Regions from separate parts of the Homo sapiens genome. Here all the other regions are linked to region 1. Evidence: promoter capture Hi-C in 16 types of primary human blood cells and fetal thymus (Javierre and others, 2016). All regions are on one chromosome and are shown on one strand. Each heading gives the region's core, a stretch centred on a gene start or on the middle of the fragment in contact. The rest is flanking DNA. Distances are from core to core; before and after follow the strand shown.

Region 1 (2,700 bases), core at 99-2,598:
AAAACATACCAGGTATACGCTGCTCTTAGCTTATTTTCCAGTGGGAAAGATAGACAATAAGCAAGTGAACAAATGCAAATAAATTACTCTAGATTGTTATAAGTGAAATTAAGTACCAATCCTTTAGATATGGTACACAGAGAAGGATCTCTGACAGACCCCAACATTGACACTGAAGCTGAAAGGCATAAAAGAACCAGAGACCTGGGGAGGGGCCGGTGGGCAGAAGGAGAGCAGGTGCCAAGCCCCCAGGTGGAGAGCTCTGGGCTCATCTCAGGAACCGAAGGCCCTCAGTGAGGTAAGAATATACCTCTCAGGGAGAGATTGACATGAATTGGGGCCCCAGAAGAAGGCAGAAGCCAGGTACCCAGGGTCTTTTAAACCACGGCAGTGAGTTTGAATGTTATTTCAAGTGTGCTGGTGCACTGTTGGCACGGGGGAGAGATGTGCTCAAATCCCCACTCTGAAAGATTTCTTAAGCTATTTCTAGAGTATGATTTACAACAGGAAATGGATGATTTGATTCTGATCTTTATACCTTCATGCATTTAAAAAAGTACTTAAGAAAGTAGTTTGGTTTGTCATTATAAAAAGCAATACTTATTTTTATATTGTGTAGATTCAATCTTGTTTCCTTGCCTAGAGTGGGCCGTGCTTTGGAGTTCTTATGAGCATGGCATTCCTGAGAACTTCTCTAACTGCAGCCTCGGGCATAGAGGCTGGGCAGCAAGTGGCAGCAGCAGAGGACTCCTAGAAGCCTTCTACTTGACTCTACTTGGCCTAAAGTCAAACTCCCTCCACCAAAGACAGAGTTTATTTCCACATAGGATGGAGTTAAAAAATATATTCTGAGAGAGGAAGGGCTTGTGGCCCAAGAGAACACCCCAGAAATACCACCCCTTCATGGGAAGTGACTCTATCTTCAAACATATAACCCAGCCTGGACATCCCCGAAAGACACATAACTTTCCATTTCATGCCCTTGAAAGTGAATCTTTTGGCCTAATAATGAGAACAAACTCATTTTGAAAGTGGAAAAATTGAGATTCAGAGCAGAAGTTTGACTAAGGTCACAAAACAGTAGGATGCCTCACTCAGCTCCCTGTGCCTAGGTCAGAAAAGCATCACAGGAATAGTTGAGCTACCAGAATCCTCTGGCCAGGCAGGAGCTGTGTGTCCCTGGGAAATGGGGCCCTAAAGGGTTTGCTGCTTAAGATGCCTGTGGTGAGTCAGGAAGGGGTTAGAGGAAGTTGACCAACTAGAGTGGTGAAACCTGTCCATCACCTTCAACCTGGAGGGAGGCCAGGCTGCAGAATGATATAAAGAGTGCCCTGACTCCTGCTCAGCTCAGCACTCCACCAAAGCCTCTGCCTCAGCCTTACTGTGAGTCTGGTAAGTGTCGGATGGTAGAACCAGGGTTGGGACTCGGGACCTCCAACAGCATACGATGTGGTGGGGGTGGGCAGCCTGGGTGGGGGTGGGCATTACTCTGGGGCTGGATTCAGCTGGACTTTCATTCTAGGGGGACTCGAGTCAGAGTACTGAGAGAAAAGTGCCTTGGCACAGAAGTGCAGAACAGAGAGTAATCATCCTATGTCCCATCTTTTCTTGTGACCATATTTTTGGATTTGTGTGTGAGAGAGAATTATGGAAGGGAGGAGGGGAATAGCATTCAACTTCTTTCCTAAACCTCTTGGGTTTTGACAGACCATCATTTTGCCTTCTTTATGGAGGGAGAGGTTCAGGGAAGAGCTTCTACCTTTTGGCTATGCTGCACAGAGGGATGGCAGAATGGGGAAACCTTTCTATTTGGAGAAACCTAGGCAGAGCTGGGACAGGAAAACTCAACTTAGAAGTATAAGACTTGGAAGAACAACCTCCAACTCTCAGCAACCTTCCAGCTCCCGCAGCCCCACCCCAGACACAAGGACTGCAGCTAAACCTCAGAAGGTCAGGAGAGAAAGCAGCCCTGGGGTTGAATAGGCCAACCTGCTGGCTTTACAGGGGGGAAAACCAAATCCCAGGAGACTAAGTGACATGCCCAGAAACACACAGCATTCCAATGGGAGATTCAGGCCTAGAGCATGTCCTGTGGCTCCAGTCTGGAGGTCACACCATGACCTCTTAGGTCCTCTCTGGCACGGCCTATTGGTTTTCTAGGACTTGGTGTTCTCCAAGAGACATTTCATTCCCTAAGGCCTTACTCCTCACTGTGACATAATCCCAGAACGCATCTCTGCTCCTTGGTCAGTGAAGCGATGAGGGTGGACACAAGGACTAGACAAGAGCAGACAGTGAGCTGGCACCTGACCCACCCTTGCAGAACAGCCCTGCAGACAGATCTCCTTGTTGGCTCTCACCTGGGAACAAGGAGGCTCCTAGGAGGACCTTTCTCTGCCCCTCCACATTTCCACCCTTCTCTCTCTGCTGCTTTTGGGAAATGATAGTCCAGAGGTGGTAGAACAGTACCCTGCCCAAGGGAAGAGGGGATGCTAAAAAACCAGATACTTCTGCAGATTCCCAAGGTTTCATCTATTTCCTTTGCCTTCAGCCTGTGCATCAGACCTCTTCTGTCTTTCAGGTTGACAGTAGCTTCTAAGATGTCCCAGCAACACACACTGCCAGTGACCCTCTCCCCTGCCCTCAGTCAGGAGCTCCTCAAGACTGTTCCTCCTCCAGTCAATACCCATCAGGAGCAAA
Region 2 (2,700 bases), core at 45-2,544, 380 kb after region 1:
TCATTTGGCTACAGATCATGAAGCTCCATGCAGGCTCCATAGCATGAATCAAGCATAAGAGTCCTTCCACATCTCACCCTTGGCTTACTATATGAACACCACACTGTTACCAACATGCCTGGTTCAGTATTAGGGTGGTGTGCCCAAAGTTCACTTGGAGAGCTAAGGGCAGGCTCAGGGTCAGTTGGCCACAATACCAGGCCTGAGAGTGGAAGTGCCATTTACTGAGGTGAGGAAGACTGTGGTAGGAGAGCTTTTGAGGCAAGATCAAGAGTTTGGCTTTGGGCATGAATTAGATGTTCTATGACACACACACATTGAGAGATAAATACATGGCAGAATTTGAACCTGTATTAAAGAAAAATGTGGTCGGGTGCAGTGGCTCACGCCTATAATTGCAGCACTTTGGGAGGCCGAGGTGGGCAGATCACCTGAGGTCAGGAGATAAGAGACCAGCCTGATCAACAATGTGAAACCCCATCTGTACTAAAAATACAAAAATTAGCCAGGCGTGGTGGTGGGCACCTGTAATCCCAGCTATTCAGGAGGCTGAGGCAGGAGAATCGCTTGAACCCGGGAGACGGAGGTTGCAGTGAGCTAAGATCGCACCACTGCACTCCAGCCTGGGAGACAGAGAGAGACTCTGTCTCAAAAAAAAAAAAAAAGTTTCCACTGTAAATATAAATTTAGGAGGTAAAAGTGATGAGTTTAAAAAGAGAGCTCAAGGAATGTGAACAGGATGGGATGGAAGGAAGGAGTGAAAAGTTGACCCTCTGAAGCTGATGTCAAGGAAGCTTTGGGAATGTGGTTGCAAGAACATTTGCAAGGTTGCAAGAAGTGGACAGAGATCCTGCCAGATGGCCTCAATTTTCTCTGCTGAGTGGTAGGGGGTTGGGAAGGAAGCTTGGGGAAAGAGGTAAAACGTGGGCATGAATATACATGAGGACAGTGCTAGCAGGAGACTAGACAGGTAGGAGACTAGTCCCAAGGCAGTGCTGGGGCCCCAGCCTGGAGGCAGGGGAGGCTTAGTTCCTCTGACCTCCAACTCTTGGGACAGACAGCCTCACCACTCTGGCCCCTGATGTGCCAAGAGCAGTTTTGTGGCCAGACGTACCAGGATGCCAACCACCCCCACCCCCCACCCGTGTAGCAAGCAACTGTCCCAGCAGGTTTGTATCTCCAGCCATTCTCCCTCCCTTTCTGTGCCTGTACCTGCTGGGTGCCCTGCCTCCTCATTAGGCAGGTCTGGGCAATGGCTCAGCTAAGGGCGCTCCCACTCCACACCCACCAGGGCTGGCCCAGCCCCAGCCCTGACCATGGAGCCAGCTCACCTGCACCACCTACTGGCGAGGCAGGGCAGGACTCCAGCGCCCTTCTGCTGCTATTCCCTAAACCCCGCTTCCACACCAACAGCCGCTGGGACTTAGGGCCCACACTAGGACTCTTAGACTCCAAAGCATTTCAGACCTGGAAAAGGCCCAGGTCACCAGTTGCAACCCCAGTTTTACAAAAGAAGATACTGAAGCTATTCGTTCATTCCACAAATATTTATGGGGCTACCATTACGTGCTGGTGTATCTGGCATCACTCAGGAGCTAGGGACGCACTGGGGAGGTCCTGCCCTCATAAATGGAACAGGCCAGTGAGGAAGACAGATATAAAATAAATAGCCACAGAATTAAAGATAAGCTTTAAATGGCGCAACGTTGGAAAGGGAAAAGTTTATGAATGAATTTATGGCTGGCAGAAGGAGGGCTCCTCTCTGAAGACATGACCTTAAGACTGGAAACTGAAGGTTGAATATAAATTGGCCAGAAAAAGAAATGAAGGTGGGAGAAACATTCTAGACAGAGGAAACAGTATGTGAGAAGGCCCTGATGTCCACAGCCTATGAACAGAAGGCCCTGTCAACAATGGGGCTCCGGAGCTCTGGGGCTCCGACTCACCTCATGAGGAGAAGAGCCCGTGAGGCACATATCTGTTGTCTGGTGGGTCCATCCCTCCCTCATCCCCCTCATCTCTAAATGAAAGCCCTCCTAAGGGAAGGCAATATTGCTTGCTCTTACTTTAGTCGGTTTGAACATATGTATTTTATCCTTCAACTTCATAATATTGTGAGTTCTTCCTCTCTTTCCTTTAGATAGCAACCCAGAGAATTTCACTGTTGCCCAAATTTGACAGAATAGCAAACCAAGAAGGTTGATCAAGTATCCTTGGCTTCATTGAAACTAGCATCTAAACCAAGACTCCCTGTGCTTTTAAACAGCAACACACCTTTAACTTCCTTAAACACCAGAAGGCTATGCATCATGAAGCTCCATGCAGACTCCACAGCACTAATCAAGCATAAGAGTCCTTCCACGTGTCACCCTTGGCTTACTATATGAACACCACACTGTTACCAACATGCCTGGTTCAGTATTAGGGTGGTGTGCCCAAAGTTCACTTGGAGGGCTAAGGGCCAGCTCATGGTCACTTGGCCACAATACCATAAAATGCACCCCTGAAATATGAACCTCATCACATGTGTGTAAAAAGACTAAGAGAAGAAAGGCAAGTAGGAATGAAGTTAAGGGATATTCTTGCCTTTCAGGGAAAGTCAATAATGAAAATTCCAGATTTGGGATCCATAAGAATATTGGTGATAAATGAAATGATTGTGGGCATTCAATAAGGAAAATGGACTAATGAATAATAATG
Region 3 (2,700 bases), core at 195-2,694, 360 kb after region 1:
CATCAATAACCTTTATTGTGCTGAGGTACATTCCTTCTATATCTGATCTTCTGAGAGTTTTTATCAGAAAATATGTTGAATTTCATCAAATGTTTTTTCTACATCTATTGGGAGTGATTCATATGGTTTTTGTCCTTCATTCTGTTCATGTGGTGCATCACATTTATAGATTTGCATTTTTAAACCACCCTTTCATTCACAAAACAAGTCCCACTTCATCATAGTGAATGATCCTTTCAATGTGCTTTTTTTTTTTTTTTTTTTTTTTGAGATGGAATCTCACTCCGTTGCCCAGGCTGGAGTGCAGTGGTGTGATCTTGACTCACTGCAACCTCCACCTCCCTGGTTCAAGCAATTCCCCTGCCTCAGCCTCCCTAGTAGCTGGGATTACAGGTGCACGCCACCACACCCTGCAATTTTTTTTTTTTTTTTTTTTTTTTTTTTTTTTTTTTTGTATTTTTAATAGAGACAGGGTTTCACCATGTTGGCCAGACTGGTCATGAATTCCTGACCTCAGGCAATCCACCCGCCTCGGCCTCCCAAAGTGCTGGGATTACAGGCGTGAGCCACCACACTCGGCCCTTTTTAACTCAGTGTACTAATAACTTTGTTGAAGATTTTTACATCTGTGTTCATCAGGGACATTGGGTTCTAATTTTCTTTTCTTGTAGTGTTCTATCTGACTTTGATTTCAGGGTAATTCTAGCCTCATAAAATGAGTTTGAAAGTATTCCCTTGTCTTTCATTTTTGGAAGAGCTTGGAAAGGATTGATATTAGTTCTTTAAATGTTTGGTAGAATTGAGCAGTGAAGCCATTGGATCCTGGGATTTTCTTTGATGGAAGACTTTTTATAACTAATTTAATCTCCCTACTAGTTATTGATCTGTTCAGATTTTATATTTCTTTGGGATTCAGTTCGATAGCTTGAATATTTCTAGGAATTTGTTCATTTCTTCCAGGCTATCCAATTTATTGGTATGTAATAATTATTCATAGTAGTCTCTTACGATCCTTTGTATTTCTCTTGTATCAGTTGTAATGTCTCCTCTTTCATTTCTGATTCTATTTATTTGAGTATTCTCTTTTTTTCCTAAGTAGTCCAGCTAAAGGTTTGTTGATTTTATCTTTTCAAAAAACCAACTCAAGGTTTGTTGATCTTTTCCACTGTTTCTTTTTCCTCTACTGCATTTATTTCTGCTATTATCTTTATTATTTCCATTCTTCTGCTAACTTTGGACTTATTTTATTCTTGTTTTCCTAGTTCCCTGAGATGTTATTTTAAGTTGTTTATTCAGGACCTTTATTCCTTTTTGATGTAGGCATTTATTGCTGTAAACTTCACTCAGAGATACTTGTGCTGTTCCCTTTATGTCTGGGTATGTTGTGTGTCTATTTTTGCTTGTCTCAAGATATTTTGTAATTTCCCTTTTAAGTTTTTCATTGACGCATTGATTGTTCAGCAGGGTATTGTATAATTTCCACGTATTTGTAAATTTTCCAAAATTCTTCTTGTTATTGATTCCTTGTTTCATACCATTAAGGTCAGAAAAGATGCTTGATATGATTTTAATCTTCTTATTTGTTAAGACTTGTCTTGTTGTCTAACATATGATCTATCCTGTAGAATGTTCTGTGTGTGCTTAAGAAGAATGTGCATTCTTTACCATTTGGTGGAATGTTCTGTATATGTCTGTTAGGTTCGTTCAGTCTAGAATGTAGTTTAAGTACAATGTTTTCTTATTGATTGTCTGTGTAGATTATCTGTCCATTACTAGAAGTGGGATATTGAAGTCACCTGCTGTTATTGTATTATAATCTATCTTTCCTTTCAGGTGTATTAATATTTGCCTTATATATTTAGGTGCTCCAATGTTGGTTGCATAAACATTTACAATTGTTATATTCTCTTGATTCATTGACTCCTTTGTCATTCTACAATGACCTCCTTTGCCTTGCTTTACAGTTTTTTACTTAGAGCCTATTTTATCTGATGTAAATATAACTACTCCTGCCATCTTTTGTGTTTCATTTGCATAGAATATTTTTTGTTATCCCTTCACTTTCAGTCTATGTGTGTTCTTACAGGTGAAATGAGTCTCTTATAGGCAGCAATAGATGGATCTTGATTTTTTAATCCATTCGGTCACTACATGTTTTTTGATTGAGAATTTAATCCATTTACATTCAAGGAAGTATTGATAGGTAAAGACGACTGTCATTTTTTTAATTGTTTTCTGGTTTTATTGTAGATCCTTTGTTCTTTTCTTCCTCTCTTACTGTCTTCCTTTGTAATTAAGTGATTTTCTCTAGAGGTTTGCATTGATTTATTACTTTTATCTTTTGTTTATCTACTATAGGTTTTTGTTTTGTGGGTTACCTTGAGGTTACAAAAACATCTTATAGTTATAACTGGTTATTTTAAACAGATAACAACTATGTTCACATAAAAATAACTTTATGCTTTTACTTCACCCCTCCCCCATAAATTTAATATTTTTCATTTTAAATTTTTGATGTCACGATTTACATCTTTTTGTACTGTATATCCCTTAACAAATTATTGTAGCTATTATTATTTTTAATAGCTTAGTCTTTTAACTTTCATACTAAAGATATAAGGAATTTACACATCACCATTACAGCATTAAAGCATTTTAAATTTGACTATATAATACTTTTACCCTGTGAGTTTTATATTT
Region 4 (2,700 bases), core at 85-2,584, 300 kb after region 1:
CCTTTGCCTAGAGGGCAGCTCAAATAACATTCTGTCATGCAAAAGCCTTCAGAATCAAGCCCCTGACTCCTTCTCTAGCCATAAGGCCATTTCTCCATCTCCTTCTAGAACTTTACAGCCCAGTAACAGGTAACTGCTGGCATTTCCTGGCACACAACACAGAGTCTCTGGCCTTTGTGACTTTACACCCCCTTCTCTATCATTTGCTCTGCCTCCACTGAATCTTCCTCTGAATGATCCTCCTGGGCAAATCCTCATCCTTTAAGTCAACTCAGGGGTCACCTGCTCCAAAAATCTTCCCCACATCCCACCCCCAAACTGGTTAGATGCCCCACTCTGTGGTCTCAGAGCTTCCATGCCTTCCTCCCCTTATCACTTCACATTCTGGCCACGTGTTCGTAACCTGACTCTCCCACCAGCCTGCCCTTTGAGAAGGGGCAGCCGGGCATGCATCGCTGACATGCAGTAATAACCAATGATTGGATGCTCAGAGGCTGCAGAGCCACTTTCCCAAACAAGAGAGGATTGCTCTGGACTGAGCCCCTGTCCACTGTGCTCCTTAATCTCGTGGCATGGAGTTATCCCCAGAATGCGACAGCGGGGAGAGGGGAAGGGGACTCAGCATGAATGGCCTGGGGCTGAAAGGCAGCCCTGGCCCTTGTTGCAGTCTTGTCCTTGGCCACTTTCCCCTTCAGCCACAAGATACAGATCCTGCCAGCCCTCCTAATGCCTTGCCAGGAAGATGCAGTCTACCTCCATGTGGGTCCCTCACCTCGGGCAGCAGCAAGGAAAGGGAAAGGGCTTGGCATCCTACAGACATGGGCTCCAAGCAAGCACTGCACCAGCCAGCTGTGGAGCCGGGCAAAATGCTTCGCCTCAGTGGGAGAAGGGAGCTCTTCACCTGAGGAATGAGAAGAAAAGTCTCACCAAGGGGCAAGGTGGGGTGATGAAGTCAGATAACTTATATCAAGCCCCTAGTGTGGGCAACTGAACTTAGGAAGCCAAGATGCCAACAGTACTCTAGTATCTATGTACACACTCGGAGTCACAACTCATCACCTACTGCAGCAAAAGCTTCCTGCTATCTGTTGTGAGAAGCAGTGCATTTGAGGGAGAAACAGGGAGTTCCACAAAAGGATGACAAATATCTCTGAAGGCAAGTAGAGTTAGGGGCCACCTCACCACCCCATTCCCAGGTTGGGCCCACAGTAGGAGCCAGAAGGAGATGCTCATATTGCCGAATATCAGAGCTGAACGTGGCATTTAAAATATCCTCAGTGTCTACATGAGGAAGCGAAGGTCCAGAGAGGGGAACAACCAAAGTCACAGCGTGTCGGTTGTAGAAAGCATCCAGGATTTCTAATCCTGATTTAGGCCAAGGTTCGCCAGAAATCAAACTCAAAAGGGAAAAAGTTGAAGATCTACAACAAATTTAAGTAACTGGGGAACATCCTTCCTCCCCACCATCTGTGTTGGTGATCTTTGACCTGAAGTCCCTGAACACCCTATAGATGACGGCATGTACATGTGAGTATTTCCTGTGATCCCAAACTGTGAACAGCCACTGGCTGGTCTGTGTCTTTGTTGTCTTCCCAAAGCTTATAAGGAATCCCCAATACACTGGTCTGCTAAGTGTTTTTGTTTTTGTTTTTTAATTATTATACTTTAAGTTTTAGGGTACATGTGCACATTGTGCAGGTTAGTTACATATGTATACATGTGCCATGCTGGTGCGCTGCACCCACTAACTCGTCATCTAGCATTAGGTATATCTCCCGATGCTATCCCTCCCCCCTCCCCCCACCCCACAACAGTCCCCAGAGTGTGATATTCCCCTTCCTGTGTCCATGTGATCTCATTGTTCAATTCCCACCTATGAGTGAGAATATGCGGTGTTTGGTTTTTTGTTCTTGCGATAGTTTACTGAGAATGATGATTTCCAATTTCATCCATGTCCCTACAAAGGACATGAACTCATCATTTTTTATGGCTGCATAGCATTCCATGGTGTATATGTGCCACATTTTCTTAATCCAGTCTATCATTGTTGGACATTTGGGTTGGTTCCATTACTGGGTATATACCCAAAGGACTATAAATCATGCTGCTATAAAGACACATGCACACGTATGTTTATTGCGGCATTATTGACAATAGCTAAGTGTTTTTTATGTGGACCATTGCCCAGACCAGACATGAGCTGACCACGTAATCTTGAACAAGATCTTTGACACTTTTGTGCCTCAGTTTCCTCATCTAAAAAACGCAGTCAATAAATAGTTCTGTGTCTCCTGTTTAAAGCACGTGCTGGGGCTAAAACAAGGAGATAGAATCAGGTGGCCTCTCAAGTCCCGTCTGGCCCTGAGGGCTTGTGATTTACAGCTCTTTCCTGAATTCACACCTCTGATTCAGACCCCCTGTGTGGGTGACACAGGAGGAAAGGAAGGGAGAGGAGTGGTGGACTTCCTCCCAGGAATTCGCAAGCTGCCCAGGGGCACCCGCTCTGCAGGAAACCAAATTCTGCACCATTCAGCTCTATCAGAGACATTGCCCTGTAATATGCAGATGAATGGGTCAGAGGAGTCTGAGGACTTTTAAGATCTGAACAGAGGAGATAGTTATTTGATGGGAATGGGAGAAAAAAAAACTGTCTTGCACACACCTGAGACTCTTCTGCTGATCCTGTCTAATTATGCCCTG
Region 5 (2,789 bases), core at 264-2,763, 340 kb before region 1:
AGGAGTTTGTTGATCTTCTTAGATGTGTAGATTAATATTTTTCATCAAATTTGATAAGTAATTAACTGTTATTCCTTTGAATATTCTTCCTGTCTTTTTATTTCTCTCATCTCCTCCTGGGATTCTTATTATAAACATGTTGGTGGGCTTGATGGTTACTCACAGGCCTCTGAAGGCTCTGTTAATTTTTATTCAATCTTATTTCTTTCTGTTCCTCGGGTTGGATAATCACAATTGACCTATCTTCAAGTTCACTGATTTGTTCTTCTAGTTCAAACCTGCTGTTGAGCCCTTCTAGTCAATTTTAAATTTCAGTTATTATATTTGTCAAGCCTCAAATTTCTATTTGGTTGTTTTAAGAAATTCTTTTTAATTCTTTGTTGTTATTCTCTATTTGGCAAGACAACATTCTTATGTTTTCTTTTAATTCTTAAGACGTAGTTTATTTTAGTACTTTAAGCACATTTAAAATAGTTGATTTTTATCTTTGTCTAGTAAAACCAATGTTTAAACTTCTTCAGGGACAGTCTCTCTTGACTACCTCCCTGGACTTTGCCCCTTGTGTAGGTCATACTTTCTTGTTTATTTGTAGCTTTCTTTCTTTTTTGGTTAATAATTGGACATTTAAAATGATATAAAATCCTGGAAATCAAATTTCCCAACCCTCTCTGGGGTTTGTTGCTGTTTGTTTTCACTGTCCATTTGCTTCATGACTTTCCTGAACCAATTTTGTAAAATCTGTATTCTTTATTGTGTGTAGTCATTTAACTCTGTACTCAGTTAGCTTAGTAGACAGAGATTTCCTTAAATGCCTTGAGTTAATGTCTTTCAACCTTTGCTGAGGACCTCTGTGTGTATGTTGGGGCATGTTTTCAAGACTTCAGAAGACAGTTTACAAATCTGTCTTAGGTTTCATTTCCTGCTTGGATGGAACTTCAAGATCAGTCAAAGTTGAGATATTAGGGTCTTCCCAGGTCTTTTCTGTACATGCACACACCCTGTAAGTCCACATAGTCTCCTAGATTTCCAGAAATGTGTCATAGATTTTTAAAACTCTCTATGAGAATCTCATTCCTCAGATTTTCCATCTAAGTTTTTGGTCAACTTCTGATTTGCCCAACTATTATCACCATCACAGGCAGCTGTGATGCTAAACATTTTTTACTGATTGTTTTTGGCAAACACCCTGGGGTAAAAGCTGTTTTCAGTGAGAGAGTTCTGAGTCAACTGGAATGAAAACAAGCTTGGCTAGTTGGGATTTCTAGGGGAAATGGGAATGGGATCTTCATTATGTGCCATATAGTCAGATAATGACATTTCTCTAGGGATGGGGTTTTTGGATAGTTTCAGATATGTTCTGTTACCTCCATGTGCTACTAGCATTTTAGATTTCAAGACTATTATGGCACTGGGAACAGGGAGATGATAATAGGGCAAGTTAAAATGTCACAAAGCTCACTGCTCTTACCCATATTCAACTGCTTTTCTTAAGTGAACACTCTAATATTTTTGCAAGCCTTTGGTAAATCTCCAGAGTTTTGCAAAAGTTGATTTTCACAATTTTTCATTTTCAAGGTGTTTTTAATGGAAGAGCAGATTTTTGGAGATCCTTGCTCAATCATTCCCAACCTTGTCTTCTTAAGTGAAAACATGAGTCCCTAGTTTTTCATCTGGGTCACAAACTTCACATCCAATAAGCATTATTATTTTGAGATATACAGCTCTTCTCATCACCACAGAGATGCTTCCATATAATATCCAGGTCATATATGAGAAAGTAAGATTAAGCTTTTCCTGTTTTATTGAGATTTGACAAAAATAACTGCCAACTTGTAAACAATAGGCACAAATAACTCTCCACCTTATAAAGAGGTTGGAAGGAGCCCTGAGATGCTATCACTCTTCTCTTGTTATAGTAATGAGAAGTTTTCAAAACTGGATAGAATGCTGTGGATTTTCCCCTTACATTTCACATGGGGAAGCAACAGGTTATTACTCTTACCCTCCACTAGAGGAAAAGTCATAGAAATTTCAAGGGGACAAATTGTAGAACTTATCAATGCCTAAAAAACAGAAAGACTTGGCCAGTAGCGGTGGCTCATGCTTGTAATCTCAACACTTTGGGAGGTGAAGGTGGGTGGATCACTTGAGGTCAGGAGTTCAAGACCAGCCTTGCCAACGTGGTGAAACCCCATCTATACTAAAAATACAAAAATAGCTGGGTGTGTTGGCTGGTGCCTGTAATCCCAACTACCCAGGAGGCTGAGGCAGGAGAATCGCTTGAACCAGGGAGACGGAGTTTGCAGTGAGCTGAGATTGTGCCACTGCACTCCAGCCTGGGCGGCAGAGCAAGATTCCATCTCAAAACAAAACAAAACAAAACAATAAAACACACACACACACACACACACACACGCAAAACCCAGGAAGACTAAAATTTCAGGTCTCAGTGTCATCATTGGACTTGCTGAACAGTTCTCTGGCTATTCTGGAGAGTGAAAAATAATTGGAAAGGGAAAATGGAAAGGAGAATGGGGAAAAGAGAAGCAGCCAGTCCCTTACTGCTTGACATGGCCAGAGTTCATGAGTTTCCCTGAGCCAGTGGACAGTTTGGAGGGCAGCTAGGCATAGCTGTACTGCCACAGTCCTGCTGGGAATGTGGCTATCAAGGCAAGAGGCCTGTACCAATGGGGCTAAGAGTGCAGGGGAGTGTCAAAAGAGGCCAAATTTTTCACATCAGGTCACTGTGCTAAAGGTTCCTTAAAGAAATCAGTCATTTATCTGGTAAG
Region 6 (2,725 bases), core at 21-2,520, 320 kb after region 1:
CCAAAAATGTACATATTTGAGAGCTGTCATCACATAGAAGGTATTTAAAGATATGTGAGTGGCTGAGATCACCCAAGGAGAAGAAGAGAGGGCCCTACCGAGCTGAGGACTCCACAAGATCTCAAGGTTGGACAGCGCAGAAGGAGCCTGTACAGCCAGCTGACAAAGAGCGGTCAGTGAAGGAAGAGAAACTAGGAGGGTGGAGACTGGAAAGACAAGAGAAGACAGGTGTCCAAGAAAGGAAGGAAAATCAATGGAGTCAACCAATACTAACTGGTCAAGAAATGCAGAGTGGCTGGTGACCTTGATGAGGACAGCCTGAGTGGGGACACAGAGGCCAGAACAGAACAGAGTGGACTGAGGAGCAAAGGGAGGTACCAAGCAGGGCAGTCTGTGGGGTTCCTGGATGCAGCTGGATTGGTTTGCTGCTCAAAGAAAATCCCAGCTCAGACCTACTCTAGGACAGAAGAGGCCTTCATGAAAGATGCCTGGCTGCAGGTGTCCAGGTGTGGGAAGGTGAGTGGGAGGAGGCAGGACTGAGCAGCACTTCCCCAAACCAGGAGGGAAGCCAACACCGAAGCCCAGGCTTCCATTTATAGAGTTTCCACAAGTGGACCCGGACTACTCCACCCTGTTCACAAAGCAACCTCGCCTGAACCTTTGACACCAGAGGCTGAGTCAGGCCCAGATGGCAAACACACTTTAAGCCCTAATCAGACTTTGCATGGGTTTACTCAGCCCATGCCTGCTTCTCTGCCCCTACCATGTCCTCCTAGAAGAGGGAGCACCTCTTCCCCGTCACCCCCCAGAGACTCACCTGCATGAGGTTCACACACTGCACTCTCTCACACCATATACCACACACACACACGCACACACATACATACACAAAGTCAGTGTGATGATTCCAGATGCTGGAACCATGCCTCCCCTTGCCCTTTGCCAAATGCCTGCCATGCTGGCCACAGAGGCAGAAGGAAAATGACAATTCTGCCCTTTTGTAATGCATGCTACTATTTTTGTCCATCACAGGTTCCTCAATTTGAGGCCTAAGTGTTCCTAGACTTCATCCGGTGTTGGAGGAAGCCCTTGCTGCCAGGGAAGCCCCAGTGTGAAGACAGGACATAGCAAACCTCAGGGAGACCCCGGGATGAGGAAGAAGACAGCCCCACCCTCTGGAGCCTGCAGAGGGAATGCAGTGGAGAGACACAGTCCTGGCCTTAAGGTTATCCCCAGTTTGAGGAGAAAGAAAAGGTCCCTGGCCTCAGAAGATCCCCAGTGCTAATGTCCCCACAAAGTGTGAGGGTCTCCATCGTACGCATCTCTGTCCTCACCCTCTCCGGACTTGGATTTTTTAAAGATATAGTACAAAATACAAAATGAAAATCACATCCAACTTACTCACCTTTAAAGAGCCCTGATCAAAATATGACAAGTGTGTTTCTCCAGTCATATGTTGAGTACTCACCTGAAGTCTAACCCAGGCTGGAGTTAAAACATCGACTCTGACACTCCAGTCTTTATATCATCATATCTACCACCAACACATCACCCACGTTTACCTTGACCCAGTTTCAAATATGAGAATTTTAGATTCAGAGGCAGAGCAGGGGTCAAGAACTGGCGTAGAGCCAGGCTCCTCAGAATGTGGCCTGTCCCTGTTCACACGGCCCAGGCAAAGCCTCACCAGGGAACCATGCTCCAGCTCCCTGCCCCACTCCAATCCTGCAGACCCCAGGTGACATTCCTGAGGCCACACAGCCTGAGTAATGACACAGCTTAGTGGAGCTGACTCATGGAAAGAGTTGCCCCATGTGCATTTGGAGGACAAGGACAGTTGTGCAAGGTGTTTGTGACAGGCCATGAGGAGGGGCAGGACGTGAGGCAGCAAGAAGTACCAGTTGGTAATTGTCATTACTTCTACTAGAATCTCCAGGTGACAAATCTACCTCAGTGCCCATAGCCCTAGATGTTGCAAAGCAAAGCAGCACTTCCACCCACGGCCTCAAAGAGCATTAAAGAGTCACTCTGTTTCAGCTCACATGAAATCAAACCATCAGTCCATCTGACTGCCCTCTGGATCGCAGCTCTTGGCTAGGTACAAGAGCTGGGGATATGAGGTCTTTTCAGCCCCCTTATCTGTGAAAGAATGGGATTGCACTAGATGCTCTTTATGGCTTCTTCCACCTATGACATCCAGTGGTTCTAAGCAGGTCTCAACAGGGACCCTGAAGTATGTCATACATATGTGACACAAGAGGGGAACCCACTCAGAGCACCCAAGTTCAAGGTCCCAAGAAAGGAAAGCCCAGTCTCCAGCTCCATACTACAGGCTAGTGGCAAATCCCTGGCACAAAGAATGTTGGCAGTCAAATACAAATGTGAGGATCGTTCATCAAACTGGCATGCTGTGTCCATTCATCTATTCATTCATTTGATAAGCATTTAATGGGAGCCTTCTATGCCTGCTATGGAGCCAGCTACTAGATATGCAGAAAATAATAGACAAAGCCACTCCCCTCAAGGGCCTCAAAGTCAACTGGCAGAGGCAGAGGCAGAAAGAGGAAGAAAAAAAAAGCAACATGCTGAAAGAAATACAATGTTGGAGAAATGTCCAGCTTAAAAGGGGCCAGGAGAGGGATTGCCAAGGTGAGCGAGGAATCAAATTCACTGAAGACATAGTTGAGCTGTTAACACTTAAAAGAAACTGGACTTGGAACCCCCA
Region 7 (2,700 bases), core at 161-2,660, 340 kb after region 1:
CACAGTAACAATGCAGTTACCATAGACACCAAGGCTGGCTGACAAGTGAGAATCCGAGAGCAATCCTCAGGCCAGGAAAGAGGGCCAGCAATCCTGTTCACATTTCCAGGAGAAAGGAAACTGGTTCTTGAGGAAGAGTAGGGTGTGAGGACAGAGATTAAAGACAGTGGAGGTCTGAGACACACAGACACACATAGGAATATGTACACACATCACACACATACAGTGCACACATATTACACATGTGTATGTAGACATTTGTACACATATCACACATATGTACACACATAACATACAGCTATATGTGCATGCCATACCAAGAGACATGTGTACGCACAACACATGCACACACAGATGTGTACACTCATCACACACAGGCACATGTATGTGCATCACATATACACAGATTGACATGTACACAGATCACACATATGACAGACATATGTGCACACATAACAGATATATGTACATACCACATACAAAGGCATGTGTACACACATAACACATGCAGACAGACGTGTATGCTCATCACACAGGCATGTACATGTACATCACATATACACATATTGACATGTACAGAGATCATACATATGACAGACATGTACGCACACCACACACAGAAACGTCTACACCCATACCCATAGATATATGTACACATATATGCACAGAGATGTGCACACACTGCACCATATGCACACATTTACACTCATACACATGAAAGCAACATGAAAGTCAAAGTCCGAATCTGGAAAAACCTCTGTCAACAATTTTTACTGTTTTCCAATCCTATCTCAAAACTCACTCTTTCCAGAAGACTTTTCCAGTTGCTTCTCTTCTCTGCATCCCCTCATCCCCCCGGCAATGGGCTAGCACTTCTCTCAAGCATTCTATTACAGAATGACTTATTTTCCACATGCCACCACTAAGCTGTCTGCTTCCCTCTTCCCCTTCCTCATGCCCTCTCACACACATACCAAAAGGGGCCACTTCAGACCACACATGCCCAGGGGAATCCTGGTTCAGAAGCCTGTGAAGAGAAGAGAGCTTTAAAAAGACAAGATGGAAACCGCATTTTGGGGAAAATCAATGATTCTGTGGATCTAGACAGAGTCTGGGGGAACCAAGGCTTATACACAAGGAAGTTGGGGGGCCAAGAAGTAAAGGTTTGAGATAAAAGAGGGTATTTCACCACACAAACCTTTCTCCTCACCTACTATGCAGCCAACACTGTGTATACAAAGAAAGATAAGGTCCCTTCCAGCAGCCTACCAGGGAGACAACCAAGATCTGGAGAAATTCAAGAGAGCGTTCTCAAGGGTACAGTGGACACAGGACAGCTGGAAGGTGTACATGGTAAGAATGGGAGTGGGCCACGGAGACCAGCCATTAAAGCTAGTAGTCATGGAGTCCATGGCGTGACATGGGGGTCCAGGTCTGTGCATGATGACACTGCCATATGGAGAGTCAGCAGCCAAAATTGAGAGTTTGTAGAAAGAGGAAGTATAAATTAAGAGAAAAAACACAAGAACAAGATTAAAATACTCAACAACATTTGAAATACTACAACTTACCAGCTGTATTTGGATGATGGAATTATAGGTGACTTTTTTTTTTTTGGCTTTGCTTTTCAAATTTGTAGCAAATTTTTTTTTCTTTTTTTGGTTTTAATTTTTGTAGCAGAATGATTTACTAAGGATAAGGGGCCAGCTCCACCACCAGGGGATTCCCTGCTGCAGGCACACATGCACACCTGTAGACATATGAACACACGTCACACAAATTAATCCTTCCTCTGGGATCTGAAGTGGCATACACTAATTGCAGGAGGATCTAAAGCAACGCAGCCTGCCCACATGCCTTTCTTAATCCTGTGCAATTATACGCACCCTGGGTGATGACACTCGCAGAGGTTATTCTTAAGGCAAGATTACTTTCCTCACCCTGCCCTCCTGCTGCACCCTCCCTTTTCCTGCATACTCAGCTCAGGTGGGAAATGCTCTCTGGGAGAAAAATTCCCAAAATTCCATTGATTTGAGCCTAAGGCTGGCATACAGGGAGGTATGACATTTTTATGCTCTTTTCCCATTGGCCTGTGATCCTTGTCAACCCACCTAGCTTCTTCCCTGTCACTGCCTCTGACCATCCTCATCTCTCCTTCCTCTCTATCCAGAGAAGAGCCATGGGAAGGAGGCATAAAAAATATCTACTAAGATGGGAGTGGATTACATTAACTTCATAGATGGAGAAACTGAGATCTGAGGGACAAGACCTTGCCCAAGCTCACAAGGTGTTGGTGGCCAGGCAGGTTTAGAGCATTGCCCCGCTGACAAGACCCCAAGACCTCAGCAGAGGAAAGACCTTGATCCCTACCCTTCAGAACAGACCAGAAGCTAACAAACTTCCTAGCTCCCAGCAGTTTGCCATAGCAAATTTATTTAAGATACTTTCATAGAAAACAAAATCAGATTATATTTTCCCTCCTCTATGAGATTAAATTCTCATCATCTCTTTGACTGATCAACATATTTACAAATATTTACTCTGAGGTCCAGCCCTGAGTTACATGGGGATATGGAGAGTTAGGGAGATCCATATTGCCAGGGATACTCTTAGCCCAGAAGAGAAGGCCCAAGGAATCTGTGCCAGATGTAAATCATGGTTCCACAGTCCCACCTCTTGGGATTCTCTGAGCACATGGAT

The links. The method cuts DNA at HindIII sites, captures the fragments that hold promoters and counts their contacts. A CHiCAGO score of 5 or more calls a contact.
Region 2: a fragment that was not itself captured here is called in contact with the fragment with the promoter of IVL in region 1 in 4 of 17 cell types (M1 macrophages, M2 macrophages, M0 macrophages and 1 more); the score reaches 9.3 in M1 macrophages.
Region 3: a contact is called between a fragment that was not itself captured here and the fragment with the promoter of IVL in region 1, in 1 of 17 cell types (M2 macrophages). The highest score is 7.2, in M2 macrophages.
Region 4: a contact is called between a fragment that was not itself captured here and the fragment with the promoter of IVL in region 1, in 7 of 17 cell types (M2 macrophages, M1 macrophages, M0 macrophages and 4 more). The highest score is 10.3, in M2 macrophages.
Region 5: a fragment that was not itself captured here is called in contact with the fragment with the promoter of IVL in region 1 in 1 of 17 cell types (naive CD4 T cells); the score reaches 5.4 in naive CD4 T cells.
Region 6: a contact is called between a fragment that was not itself captured here and the fragment with the promoter of IVL in region 1, in 7 of 17 cell types (endothelial precursors, megakaryocytes, erythroblasts and 4 more). The highest score is 10.4, in endothelial precursors.
Region 7: a contact is called between a fragment that was not itself captured here and the fragment with the promoter of IVL in region 1, in 3 of 17 cell types (endothelial precursors, M2 macrophages and erythroblasts). The highest score is 6.1, in endothelial precursors.

Annotation. Positions count from the first base shown.
Region 1 is chr1:152,907,198-152,909,897 of GRCh38, forward strand. It overlaps IVL (involucrin), which reads left to right and starts at 1,349. Exons shown (of 2, transcript NM_005547.4): 1 at 1,349-1,392; 2 at 2,582-2,700. The coding sequence starts at 2,601. RefSeq lists promoters at 1-2,589, 450-1,389, 1,109-1,343, enhancers at 1-116, 1-31, 950-1,229, a cis regulatory region at 699-1,195 and silencers at 964-1,016, 1,389-2,589. The HindIII fragment of the contact is 6,184 bases long and covers 1-2,700 here.
Region 2 is chr1:153,287,509-153,290,208 of GRCh38, forward strand. No RefSeq gene overlaps it. Among named protein-coding and RNA genes, the nearest start is that of PGLYRP3, 24 kb to the right of the region's middle. The HindIII fragment of the contact is 786 bases long and covers 902-1,687 here.
Region 3 is chr1:153,267,950-153,270,649 of GRCh38, forward strand. No RefSeq gene overlaps it. Among named protein-coding and RNA genes, the nearest start is that of LORICRIN, 9.6 kb to the left of the region's middle. The HindIII fragment of the contact is 3,713 bases long and covers 1-2,700 here.
Region 4 is chr1:153,209,987-153,212,686 of GRCh38, forward strand. No RefSeq gene overlaps it. Among named protein-coding and RNA genes, the nearest start is that of PRR9, 6.2 kb to the right of the region's middle. The HindIII fragment of the contact is 524 bases long and covers 1,073-1,596 here.
Region 5 is chr1:152,569,202-152,571,990 of GRCh38, forward strand. No RefSeq gene overlaps it. Among named protein-coding and RNA genes, the nearest start is that of LCE3E, 3.8 kb to the left of the region's middle. The HindIII fragment of the contact is 545 bases long and covers 1,242-1,786 here.
Region 6 is chr1:153,230,914-153,233,638 of GRCh38, forward strand. No RefSeq gene overlaps it. Among named protein-coding and RNA genes, the nearest start is that of PRR9, 15 kb to the left of the region's middle. The HindIII fragment of the contact is 3,185 bases long and covers 1-2,725 here.
Region 7 is chr1:153,250,323-153,253,022 of GRCh38, forward strand. No RefSeq gene overlaps it. Among named protein-coding and RNA genes, the nearest start is that of LORICRIN, 8.0 kb to the right of the region's middle. The HindIII fragment of the contact is 3,465 bases long and covers 1-2,700 here.